Linked DNA regions of Homo sapiens: region 1 is linked to region 2. Evidence: promoter capture Hi-C in human tissues and cell types (Jung and others, 2019). All regions are on one chromosome and are shown on one strand. The core of a region is centred on a gene start or on the middle of the fragment in contact, and the rest is flanking DNA. Distances in the headings are between cores, read along the strand shown. Region 1 has its middle 3.6 kb from the start of PRPSAP2. Region 2 holds the start of ALKBH5 (alkB homolog 5, RNA demethylase).

What was found. Contacts are between HindIII fragments. The study calls those that stand out against the background at their distance.
Region 1: a contact is called between a fragment that was not itself captured here and the fragment with the promoter of ALKBH5 in region 2, in 1 of the 25 tissues and cell types used here (spleen).

What each region holds. Positions count from the first base shown.
Region 1 is chr17:18,851,172-18,857,844 of GRCh38, reverse strand. It overlaps a transcript of PRPSAP2 not described here. Among named protein-coding and RNA genes, the nearest start is that of PRPSAP2, 3.6 kb to the left of the region's middle. RefSeq lists enhancers at 1,715-1,774, 1,795-1,844, 1,363-1,863. The HindIII fragment of the contact is 3,412 bases long and covers 1-3,291 here.
Region 2 is chr17:18,181,555-18,187,534 of GRCh38, reverse strand. ALKBH5 (alkB homolog 5, RNA demethylase) reads right to left here and starts at 3,707. Exons shown (of 4, transcript NM_017758.4): 1 at 2,522-3,707. The coding sequence starts at 3,291. RefSeq lists silencers at 1,557-1,606, 2,830-2,981, 3,140-3,229, 3,310-3,609, 5,746-5,980 and enhancers at 2,875-3,712, 3,820-4,059, 4,120-4,319. The HindIII fragment of the contact is 6,004 bases long and covers 1-5,333 here.

The DNA.
Region 1 (6,673 bases), core at 336-2,835, 670 kb before region 2:
AGCCTCCACTGGCCTGTAACCTTGGACAAGTCATTTCAACCCTCTGAGCTTGTTTCCTCATCTGAAAAACAAAGATAGCAGCACCCATTCCATAAGACTGTTGTGAGGATTAAATGAGACAATACGGCCAGACGCGGTGGTTCACGCCTGTAATTCCAGCACTTTGCGAGGCTGAGGCGGGCGGATCACGAGGTCAGGAGTTCGAGACCAGCCTGACCAACATGGTGAAACCCCCATCTCTACTAAAAATACAAAAAAAAAAAATTAGCCAGGCGTGGTGGTGCGCGCCTGTAATCCCAGCTACTCAGGAGGCTGAGGCAGGAGAATCGCTTGAACCCGGGAGGCAGAGGTTGCAGTGAGCCGAGATCGCGCCACTGCTCTCCAGCCTGGGTGACAGAGCAAGAGTCCATCTCAAAAACAAAACAAAACAAAACAAAACTGTGCTAAAAGCACAGTTCTGGGTGTATAATAAATGATCAGTTTTTTGTTCGTTTGTTAGTTTTTTGTTTTGAGACGGAGTTTCGCTCTGTTGTCCAGGCTAGAGTGCATCGGCGCGATCTCAGCTCACTGCAAACTTCGTCTCCCGGGTTCAAGCGATTCTCCTGTCTCAGCCTCCCGAGTAGCTGGGATTACAGGTGTGCGCCACCACGCCCGACTAATTTTTTGTATTTTTAGTAGAGACAGGGTTTCACCATGTTGGCCAGGCTGTTCTCAAACTCCTGACCTCAAGTGATCCGCCCGCCTCCGCCTCCTAAAGTCCTGGGGTTACAGGCGTGAGCCATCGCGCCCAGCCATTATCAGTTATTATCGTTATTTGCCTTGTCGCCTTTTTTTCTTTTATTATAAAGGAATTAGTACTTTTGGTATCCATTGCCTAAGTTCTTTATAACTTAGGTAATGTTTACTCTTTATTGTATGTATAACATAATAATAGCAAACACATGGTCCTCTTTTAAGTGCTTTACATATATTAACGGTAACTTATTTAATCCTCACAAGAGCATAAGGTAGGTGTTGTTATCCTCTCCATTTTAATAGTTGTGGGAACTGAGACGACGACGTTAAATAACTTTTCCAATGACAAAGCAGTGGACAGAATTTCGACCCAGGAGGCTTTGCACCAGTCTTCACTTACCTAATCCCTATACCACATCTTCTCTCCAATTCTGCTTTGGATTTTTCACAATAATGAGGCATGAAATATTCATCAGAGGTTGCAGAGCTAGCTAGAGTCTTTATGGTTCAACGTCTTATTTTAGAAACGAAGAATACAAGCATCTCAACTAACGAATTGTAAATTAGGTGAGACTTCGTGAAATGGAGTCGTTTGAAACATTTCCTTTGCCTGACAACTTTACAGGGACATACCTCTTTGTAAAGAGCAAGACCCATGAGCCCAGTGATTATCTGCATACCAAAATTGATTCCTCTTCAGCGGTACCTCGGCTGGGCTCACGTCCCTTCTGCGCTGGCATCTAACTCCGGTCACAACCCCCACCTCTCTGCTGTGGCTGGCGTAGATTCCACGCGTCACATGTTGGCATGTGACTGGATCTGGCCAGTCAGAGAAGTTCATCCCTCTCCGCTCGCTGATTCGCTCCAAAGATAGGCTACTGAGCCAATCGGAGCCCACGAAACACCGTCTCCATCCCTGCGCCGGGACTGGAGAGGCTTACTCTCTCCTGCTGATGCTGCAGCTGCTGGGATGCCAGGAGGGGAACCGCCTGAGGAAAGTGCTGAGAGAAAAGAGAGGGAGGGATACAGACCGGGCCCAGATGAGTTTGCGCTGAATCTGAAGTCGGTAGGTCCCTGGACATTTCTATTATGGAAGCCAAGAAGAACCTCCCCTCCACCCTCTGAAGCCAGTGTGGATCGGGTTTCTGGCACTTGCAGTGTCTGCACGGTCTCCTCTCCTTCCTTCTCCATTGCCCTTTCTCACCCGCCTGGGCCCGCCACCCTGAACTACCGGGACACATGCTGTTCCTGCCTCCAGGCGTGCACTTCTTCCTGCAGCCTCCTCCCCTACTAACTCCTTCTTGAACTTGATAGCTCCATTGTCACTTTCGAGTCTTCCCTAAACCACTCCCTTCCCAAATAAAACTGTTTCATGTATTTTTCTTTCATTGGGCTTATCACGATTTCTAATTAAGTGTTTGGGTGGTTATTTGACAAATATCACCACCTCAGCCCCTGTACACTGTAAGCCCCATGAGGGTGGGCTCTTCGTCCCTCCTGCTGATCACTGTTTCCCAGGGCCTGGCACAAGTATGGTACTCAAGAAATGTCTGGAAAATTGAGTGCCTTATCCTTTCTGGAAAGAAAATGGGCAGTAGCGCAGCATTATATAGTGTTTGCACCATACAAGAATAATATTACTGGAAAAAAAAAAACTTTTCTAAGAGACAGAGTCTTGCTCTGTTGCCCAGGCTGGAGTGCAGTGGTGCAATCATAGCTCACTGCCGCCTCGAACTGGGCTCAAGTGATCCTCCCGCCTCGACCTCCAAAACGCTGGGATTGCAGTCATGAGCCACCACACCTGGCCTTGAATTTTTTAAAAAATCCACTCTCATTAACCAGAATGAGCTAGCTCCAGTGTATCACCGCGTCCAGGGTTCTGCAGTGGGGTGGCTTGCTCCTCAATAGTTTCCCGCACTGCAGGCACTTAGTTTGTAGTTTCATTTGTTCTGTTATAGCAATACCACTCTTCCATCCGCCATCCATTCTCCAAGGACTATTGAAATCCCTTGTAGGCTGATGTCAAAACTCTCATTCTCTTTATCCTTGGGGTTTAGGCCATAGGAGTGTGCCATGGTAGGTGTTCAGCCAAGCTGACCCACCAGGTGACTGCAGCCCCAGCCACCACCTGACTGCAACTTTATGAAAGACCCTAAGCAAGAGCCACCTAGCTAAGACCAATCAAACCACAAAAAATTGAGAGCTAAGAAATTTTTTATTAAAGCCCAAGTCTGGGCATATTTTGTTATACAATGGGTAATGAGCAAGAAAGGAGCAAAAGCATAATGTAAAGCTTGTGGTCAGTTCCACACGAATGCAGTTTTTGGTTAGTCCATTGCTAAACTTGATAATCCCTTGCCCACTTGGATGTTTGCAGTCAGAGTCTTTGCATGTAATAGAAGTGCTCAGCTTGCTGCAACACGTCATTGGCCATATTCAAGGGCTAAACTGCTGTATATCGACTATAAATCAAGATACTCAAGTCTAAGACATTTCCCTTCAACATTTTTTAAAGGAAGGAAAGGAATCTTTGCTATAGTTTGATAGAAATTTTTGAGCAGTATGGTGTAACAAAAAACACAGGATTCTCCTTCAAATGGTTGTGCAAATGAAAAAACAGGGACTTAGGTGTCCATCACTAGGATGGAGCCTGCTTCCTGCCTCCTGTCCTCATTGTGGAAATGACCCTGGACAGATCCACCTCTCTAAGTTTCTGTTTCCTCAGTGGAAAAATGAGCACTAATATTAGCAGCCATATGATGGTTGGGGGTGAGGAGTTACTTTTAGATGGAGTCCATGAGTATGAGGCACCGAGGAAGCTTTTGCAGCTGCCTCTCTGCTCTCGCCTGTCTGGCTATCAGGGAAGAAAAACAAGGCACCCCTTTTTCCCCAGTGGAAGAGGATGGCAGCTTGCCTGGCTGTAGGAGGCAGCGGAGGCCAAAGCCAGGTCACCAGCCAAGGAGGCCTTGGAAGTTCCTATAGAGTCCTTTCCTGCATCCTCCAGCTTTTTTCCTTTTTCTTTTCTTTTTTCTTTTTTTGAGATGGAGCCTTGCTCTGTTGTCCAGACTGGAGTACAGTGGCGCAATCTTGACTCACTGCAACCTCCACCCTCCCGGGTTCAAGCTATTCTCCTGCCTCAGCCTCCCAAGTAGCTAGGACTACAGGTGCATGCCACCACACCCGGCTAATTTTTGTAATTTTACTAGAGATGGAGTTTTGCCATGTTGGCCAGGCTGGTCTCGAACTCCTGACCTCAAGTGATCCACCCATCTCGGCCTCCCAGAGTGCTGGGAATACAGGCATGAGCCACTGTGCCCGTCCTCTTTTCTCCTTTTTCTATTTTCCCCCAAAATGAAAGGAACTTCATTGTCTTTTTTTTTTTTCCCGAGGCTGAGTCTCACTCTGTCATCCAGGCTTGAGTGCCGTGGCGCGATCTTGGATCACTGCAACCTCTGCCTCCTGGGTTCAAGCGGTTCTCCTGCCTCAGCTCCCCAGCAGCTGGGACTAAGAACTTCATTGTCTTTTGTAAGCATAATAATATTTACACATTGTAAGAAAAATTCAAATGAGAAAGAAGAAAAAATTAAAAAGATATTTGCCATTATCCCATGTGGAGAGGTAGCCACTCTTGGAATTTTCCAATATGCCTTTTCCCTGTAACAATTTATTGCAGGCATGATTCCATGTTGATGAATTCAGGTCGACATCATCATGATATGAGCTGTGAATGAAAGACTGTAGTCTTGGGAACCAGCGCCTAGATCCAAATTCCTTCTCTCCTCACCAGCTGTGTGACCTCAACAAGTTTCTTAACCTCTCTATACCTGTTTCCTCATCTACAAAATAGGAATAATAACAGCATCTATGTCATAGGGGAATCTTGATGACCACTTGAGTTATCTGGCACACAGTTGACTACCACTTTCTATTAACCGCAGCGATTATGAGCTATTGTGATATGGATGAACCATTATTTTCTCTTAACTAATCCCTCATTCTGGGCACTTTTTACTATTAATACATAACCTGTCTTTCTACCTTTGCCCAAGTATTTCCTCACGTTAAATTTCTAGAGGTAAGCTTGTTTGGTCAAAGGATATGCCCTTTTAAAATTTTGTTCCCTGAAATTTTGTACCAATTTACAGTCTCACCAGGAAGGTGGAAGAGCATCCATGTCTCTTCATCTTCACCAACACCAGGCACCATCCATTATTTTTAGCTTGTCCAAGTGAATAGTCAATGTTTTCTGGGCTTTTAAAATTACTTGTCCACGGGCCAGGTGTGGTGGCTCACACCTGTAATCCCAGCACTTTGGGAGGCCGAGGCAGGCAGATCACCTGGGGTCAGGAGTTCAAGACCAGCCTGGCTGACATGGGGAAACCCCATCTCTACTAAAAATACAAGAAAATTAGCCAGGCGTTGTGGCAGGCACCTGTAATCCCAGCTACTGAGGAGGCTGAGGCAGGAGAATCGCTTGAACCCAAGAGGCAGAGGTTGCAGTGAGCCAAGATCACACCATTGCACTCCAGCCTGGGCGACAAAAGTGAAACTCTTTCAGAGATTCAAAATAAATAAATAAATTAAAAATAAAATAAAATTACTTGTCCAAATCAGGCTGCCTGTAGCTACCCTGGCTGCCTTGCTAGCTGACTTTTACCTCCATTCATTTACTCAACAAATATCAATAAAGTACTTAACTCATGCCAGGCCCAGTGCTGAGGGTTGGGGCTACAGCTGGGAATGGCAAAGCACCCACCTCATACAGTGACCATAGTAGATGATCCACTGCATGCTAAGAGTTTAACAAAGTCCTGCTTTAGTATCCAATAAGCTATACTAGGTAGGTTAAATATTTATAATATATATGCTCTCTGGATATATAAGGAGTTTTGGGCCGGGCACGGTGGCTCATGCCTGTAATCCCAGCAGTTTGGGAGGCCGAGGAGGGTGGATCACCTCAGGTCAGGAGTTCGAGACCAGCCTGACCAACATGGAGAAACCTCGTCTCTACTAAAAATACAGAATTAGCCGGTCGTGGTGGCACATGCCTGTAATCCCAGCTACTCAGGAGGCTGAGGCAGGAGAATTGCTTGAACCCGGGAGGCGGAGGTTGTGGTGAGCCAAGATCACGCCATTGCACTCCAGCCTGGGCAACAAGAGTGAAACTTGGTCTGAAAAAGAAAAAAAAAAAAACAGAAGGAGTTTTGTAGACCCGGCACAGTGGCTTACGCCTATAATCCTAGCATTTTGGGAGGCTGAGGCAGGCAGATCACCTGAGGTCAGGAGTTCAAGACCACCCTGGCCAACATGGTGAAACCCTGTTTCTACTAAAAATACAAAAATTAGGCGGGCGTGGTGGTGCATGCCTATAATCTCAGCTACCCAGGAGGCCGAGGCAGGAGAATCACTGGAACCAGGGAGGCAGAGGCTGCAGTGAGCTAAGCTGAGATCCTGCCACTCCAGCCTGGGCAACAGAGCGAGACTCCGTCTAAAAATATATATATATATTAGCATTAGCATTACCATTTTAGCTGTACAACCTTAGAAGTCATTTCTCTCTGTTAGTTTCCTCATCTGTAAATGGGCTAATGCCACCTACTTCATGTCACTATTGAGGTGGATGGAGTAGAATAACATATTTATGGTAATGTCAATAAACCAAAGCCACAGCAAGGTTGGCACGGCCCACACACAGGCCCCCGTGGCAGCCTCCTCCTCCTGGTGGCAGCACCTAGCCAAGATCTGGGCTTTGAGCCCTTTGCCCACACCCTACTCTCAACAGCTTTCTCCTGGGCACTACTGGTGACACTGTGCTGGCTCACAGCAGCACCCCACCCACCAGGACTTTTTTTTCATTTCCATAATTGGAAAGTGCAGAATCAGGGACTGATGATCCCCCGGTAAATTACCCCCCAACTCAACTTTATCGGGTCTCTCC
Region 2 (5,980 bases), core at 2,458-4,957:
GGTTGTCATAAAAAACACTATTGGCACCTAGCAGATAGAAGCCAGGAATGCTGCTGAACAGTCTACAATGCACGAACAGCCTCAACAATGAAGCATTATCAAGCCCTGAATAACAATAGCACTGTTGAGAAGCCCTGATCTAGAGTTCACCAGAGCACCCTCAACCACAGTCTCTACTAATGAACTCCATCTGCCTCCCATCAACATCCACCCCCTCTTACCTATGGCTACTCCTGCTACTGCAGCCAAAGACACTGCTGTTGTGTATTTCTCCACCTTTCTCTGCTTGGCTCATTCCTAGTCACTTTTCACATTCCAGTTCATTTCCTCCCCTAAACTTCCAACACTCCAAAGTGGAAAAGATGTCCCCCTTCAGTGTGCTTCTGCAGTTACCTTCCTGGGCTATAACTTATCCTCCTGTCTGAGGCCTCCATGGGGCTTGAACTACACGAAGGGAAACTGTCATGTTTCAGGCTCCACCAAATCCCTAGTTCCTTCCCCAGTGAGAGAGCAGGGGATCACTGAGTGGTTGTATATGAAAGCAAGCACCCATTTAAGTACCTACCCTGTGCCAGGCCCTATCTTAGACAACAAATCACCACATTTAATTCTAATAGGCTTTGGAAGTTGGCATCATCCCCACTTACAGATGGGAAAGCCAGCTCAGAGAACGCCTACAAGATCCCAAAGCAAATGAGAGAAAAGCTGGATTCAAAGCCTGGGGCAGCACTTTTCAGGACATGGCTGAGCCTCCCACACTAACACCACAGCCAAGTCTGAATCCAGAAAGGGTTGACAGGGACTGGGAAAGCTTTAGGACTTTACTATTCTGAGGAAAAGATGAAGAGAATTTTCCTGATGATGCAATCCTGTTGCTGATCACTAACAGACCTGCATACTAAGAACTCGAAACTTCTGTTCTTAAAATACAGGGTGGGCATGTGTTAAGGAGAGTAGTAGTCCCAAAACCAAAAAAAAATGCCTTGTGATCCCCTCATTAAGCACCAGACCACTACTAGACCTCCTGACAACCACCCTGAGGGCCAATGACTACGCAGAAAATTAATATCCCGCTAAGAGACCAAATGGTCCTTGTGTGAGGTAATTTTTGCACTGAGAACCCGTCAATGGGGTCAGACCCCAACCTGCCTTACACAGCAAGCACCCGGAGAGGGTGTGTCCTGGAAATCCCATCTTAAAGCATTTTGCCAAGACATCCATCTAGGAGCGCCATGAAGATCTGAGAAGCTCAGAAGCCCATTATAAGAAGGCATCTGACAGCTAGGCTGTCCTCTAAGTTTCAGATGCCTAAAGAGCTAAAGTATCGCTTCTGCTACTACTGACTTCCCACCTTCCCACCAGGACGTCTTGGACATTACAAGGCTCTGCTGCCATCCCCAACATGGAAGCAGCCTCAGCTGTTAGACTCAAATGAAACAGATGACCTAATCTCATATCAAGAAGGCTCCAGGGACCCTGCTTCTCCTCATGACTTTGGCCCTACTGACTCACTTCAGAACCTGGGCTGCTCACGACAAAAGCCCAGTGTGTCCTCAACCTTGTATTTGGTGGTGGTCAACCAAGCTGCTCTGAGAACAGCTGCGGTCTAAACCTAAGATGTTTTGGGTATTACTGAATTACATTACTAGGTTTACCTTTTTCAGGACTGGAAGGAGGCCGCTTCCAAATAAATTTTCACTTCACATAAACAGCAAAGGTGTTCCCAATGGCAATCTCCTCTGGGGGCCAGGGCACTGAGCTAATTCTCAGCAGGATCTGGGAACCGAATATAGGCCAAAAGCCTAAGTTCTGCTGCTCACGCAACTGTAAGGCCAAACAGTCAAGAGACCAGCTGTATTCTGTTGTATTCAGTCCTGACTACAAGTAACACGTTCTTACAAAGAACTGATGGGCTCTTCTGCAGCCAGGAGGGAAGAATTTTAAGAGTGTGCTGCTCTGTATGCCTGGCCCAACCACTAATCTGTTCAACTCCAGGGAAGTCACTCCCCCTCCTGGGAATGGAGAATGTGCTTCAATTAAATAATCTCTGGGGCCTTTGCCTGTGACTACTTTCTCTGTTAAGGAATCCAAAAATGGCAGAACAAGAAAGACTTTTAGATAAATTAAAAAAAAAAAAAATTTTAAAGCATAGATTTGTAAATGGAAGGCCAGAATGGAAAACCGGAAAATCACAAAGGGACTTATGCTAAGAAATGGATGGTGGGAAAAAAAAAAATCAAAGGGAACAGCCTTCTGAAAAGATGGCTTTCGATGAATTCTCAGCCAAGTCAGTGATCCCGTCAAACCTGCCTTCGGGGACAGGATTTCCACATCGGTTCCCTATTTTCTTGCTATAGGTATCTTAAACACAAAACCCTTCTCTCGCTCCCTACAATCTACAAACAGAAGAACTGGTCAGAACTGTAAAAAACGCAGACTCCTACGGGCTGCTGCTTTCTGGGCCAGGGTGGGTAGCTAAGGCAGCAGGCGCAGGGCCGCCCCCTCCACCCGGGTGGGTTACCTGAGCACAGTCACGCTTCCCCTGCGCACCGGCAGGGAAAGCACTGGTTCCGACACCCGAATAGGCTTGAACTGGAACTTGCAGCCGAAGCACAGCGCAGAGTCGCTAAAGAAGGACACGGACACGATGGGGCGCTCGAAGATGTGGATGGGGTCCACGTGAGACACGATGCAGCCGCCGGGCTGGTAGTCGTTGATGACGGCGCTGTTGACGAAGCCCTCGGGGATGACGCGGTGCTCCACCAGCTTTTGGATCACCAGCTGGTGCACCCACTCGGGGATCTCGTCCACGTCGCCCGGCGGGTAGAGGCGCTCCTGGCCGGGCCCGCGCTTCTGCAGCTGGGCGCCGTAAGTGTAGCCTTCGCCGAAGAAGTACTTGTTGCGCAGTGGGGCCCGGTCCACCGTGTGCTCGTTGTACAGGCCCTTCTCAGCGCGGGACACCACCTCGTCAATGCGGGCCTCGATCTTGGCGCACTCGTCCTGGCTGAAGAGGCGCATCTGGCGGATGCCGCTCTTCACCTTGCGCGCCTCCTCCTCCTTCTGCAGCTGCTGCTCCTCATAGTCGCTGCGCTCGGGGTCCGAGTCCTCCTGATACTTGCGCTTGGCCCCGGACACAGGGTAAGGTTCGGCGGCAGCGGCGGCTGCGGCTGCGGCGGCTACGGCGGCTGCGGCAGCGGCGGCGGCCTCCCGGCTGCCCGCCTTATAGTTGTCCCGGGACGTCATGGACTTGAGCTTCTCACGCAGGTCCGTGTAGCCGCTGGCGGCCGCCATGGCCCCCACGACGCTGCTCTAGGGTCCTCCGGGGCGGGCGGGGCAGCCGGGCATGGCTCTAAGGGGACGCGCCCCGGGGCCCCCGGAGGGAGGGGGGTCCTTAGCGCCGAACCCCCATGCGTGAGTGGGGGACCCGGCGGGGGGCGTCGAGGGTCCGGGCGTGGGGTAGGGCCTCAGGAGCGGCGGGTCATGCAACGGTGGCGACAACGGGGCTTCTTCCTCCTCCACCTTCTCCACGTCCCGCGGGGCAGGGGCGCCGGCAGCGCCTCATGCCGCGGAGGGCTGCTGCGGAGACGCGGCCCGACTCCCGACCAGACCCTCGGACGCCCGGCCCGGCCCGCACTTTAAAGCTCTCCGCACGACGTCACGGGCAGCCAGCCCGACGTCCGCCAGCGCCGCTCCTTAGCGGGCTCCTCACCGCGCACGCGCAGTGCTGCCGGCCACCGCGGCTCCGCGCGCTACGGGCATGCGCGTGCGTGCAGGCCGGGTCGGCAGAGGCGCCGGCGCAAGCGCAGACAGGAACCGCTTGCCGTCCGCCGCCCCTCCCCCACTCTCTGAGGGGCTTCAAGGGAACGCTCTCAAATAGCAACCTGTCTTCACGCCGCGCCGCCTCCAGGACCGAAGGGCTCCCTCTACAGGGGTGCGCTCATATTGCCAACAGTGTCGCCGTGCCGCGTCACGGCATCGTCCGAACGCCCGCAGACGCCTCAACCCCAGGGCGCATTCACCAGGGAACCGCCACAACGTAGGCCGCTCCGTTACCTCCCCCTTTGGCGCTTCCACTTCTTTAATTGGGCCGTGGGCCACGCGCCGGGCAGGCCCTGACTGGAGTTTCCGGAAGTCGGTTGGTAATCATGCGTGTCAATCAGGCAGTCTCCTTAGCTACTGTGTCCGTCACTTAATTAGCGGCTGGGCGAGCAGCGAGGACCCCTAAAGGAGAAATGGGTGGTTAAATAAGTGCCTGAATGGAGACTCCACCTGAGTAAAGCCCTTAGAACGCCTAAGGAAACTTCTGAAACCCGCGAAAACTTCTCAGACTGCGGGACCTGCAGCACCCGGCCCCAGTTCTGAACCCAGATAGGAACGTCCGGCAGAAGCCAGACGCGCGTTGTCGGGGTACAAGCCAGCCTGCCGCCGCTGCCGCCGCCGCCCGGAGCGGACGTTTCACGAGTCACGTCCCGGTGACGGCGAGCGTGGGGGCGCGCTGGGGTTGGCGTCGAGCCTCCTTGGTGCTGGAGATGGGCGTGGGGGCACCTCCTACGGGGACTCTGGAAGAAAACTCCAGGAAACGAACGGGCGCAAGGCTAAGGCTAAGCTATAGATAATGACTACAGTCAATTCAAAAAAGTTTTGAAGCAGTCAGCAAAGGCGTTGCCGGGCGCGGGGCCTCACGCCTGTAATCCCAGCACTTTGCGAGGCCAAGGCGGGCGGATCACTTGAGCCCAGGAGTTTGAGACCAGCCTGGCCAACATGGCAACCCCATCTCTACAATAAAATTTTTAAAAATGAACTGGGCGTGGTGGCGCGCGCCTATGGTCCTAGCTACTCAGGAGGCTGAGGTGGGAGGATCCCTTGAGCCCAGGGGATTGAGGCTGCAGAGAGCCGAGCTGGCGCCACTGCACTCCGGCCTGGGCGACAGAGCTGCAAAACAAAACAAAAAGGCGTAGCCGTGCAGGATGCACTGGAGGGCTCCAACAAATGGGGGTCGGGGGGGATCTGCTGGAAAATCTCCCATGTCTCCCAGGATAAAGTTCCCCTGCTTTATTTGGCACTCAAAGCTTTTCTTCAAGACTCTTCTGGCCTTGGCTCCTCCTCTCCTCTCTTTCCATGTACACTGAGCCCCAGCCTGGTCCTCATCCTGTAAGCCAGGTCTACAAACATACTGTGTCTCACCTCCTGGCCTTTGCCCAGGCTGTTTGCCATGGCTGTTGCCCATGCCAGTTCCTTATCACCCGTCTCCCTCTCTCTCTCCCCCTTCCCCTCCTCCTCCTCGTTCTTTTTTGACAGAGTCTCTGTTGCCCAGGCTGAAGTGCAGTGGCACGATCTTGGCTGACTGCAATCTCGACCTCCCGGGTTCAAGACATCCTCCCACACCTCAGCCTCCTGAGTAGCTGGAACTATGTAGAGGCGTGTACCACCACACCCCGCTAATTTTTCTGTTTTTAGCAGAGATGGGGTTTCACCATGTTGTCAAATTGGTCTTGGAACTACTGGGCACAAGATCCTCCTGCCTCGGCCTCCCAAAGTGCTGGGATTACAGGCGTAAGCCACTGCGCCCAGCCTGGAATGGACATTTTTTTAAAAAGCTTATCAAGTTTTTACTATGTGCCAGGACCTGTGCATATACTAGCCCAATTAATCGTCCAAACAATTCAATGAGGAGGGCATTATTATTATTACCATTGTATATATAGGGAAACAGGCCCAGAGAGGTGAAATGACTTGCCCAAGGCCATACAGCGAGTATGTGGCCTAGTGATGATTCAAACCCAGGCTGCCTGGTTCCAGAATCTGTGCTGTCCCTCACCGGGGCTCCGAGAGGGGAGAGTCCTAGCTCAAGAGCAGTCAGGGAGGAACACAGGGAAGCTTCCAATGCAGTGTCCGTTATGGGAGAGGCTGTGTCAACCTAGAGAAGAGGTGATTCACATTTTGGCTCAACCTGGATGATCTACTTCCAAGAAGCCGCTTG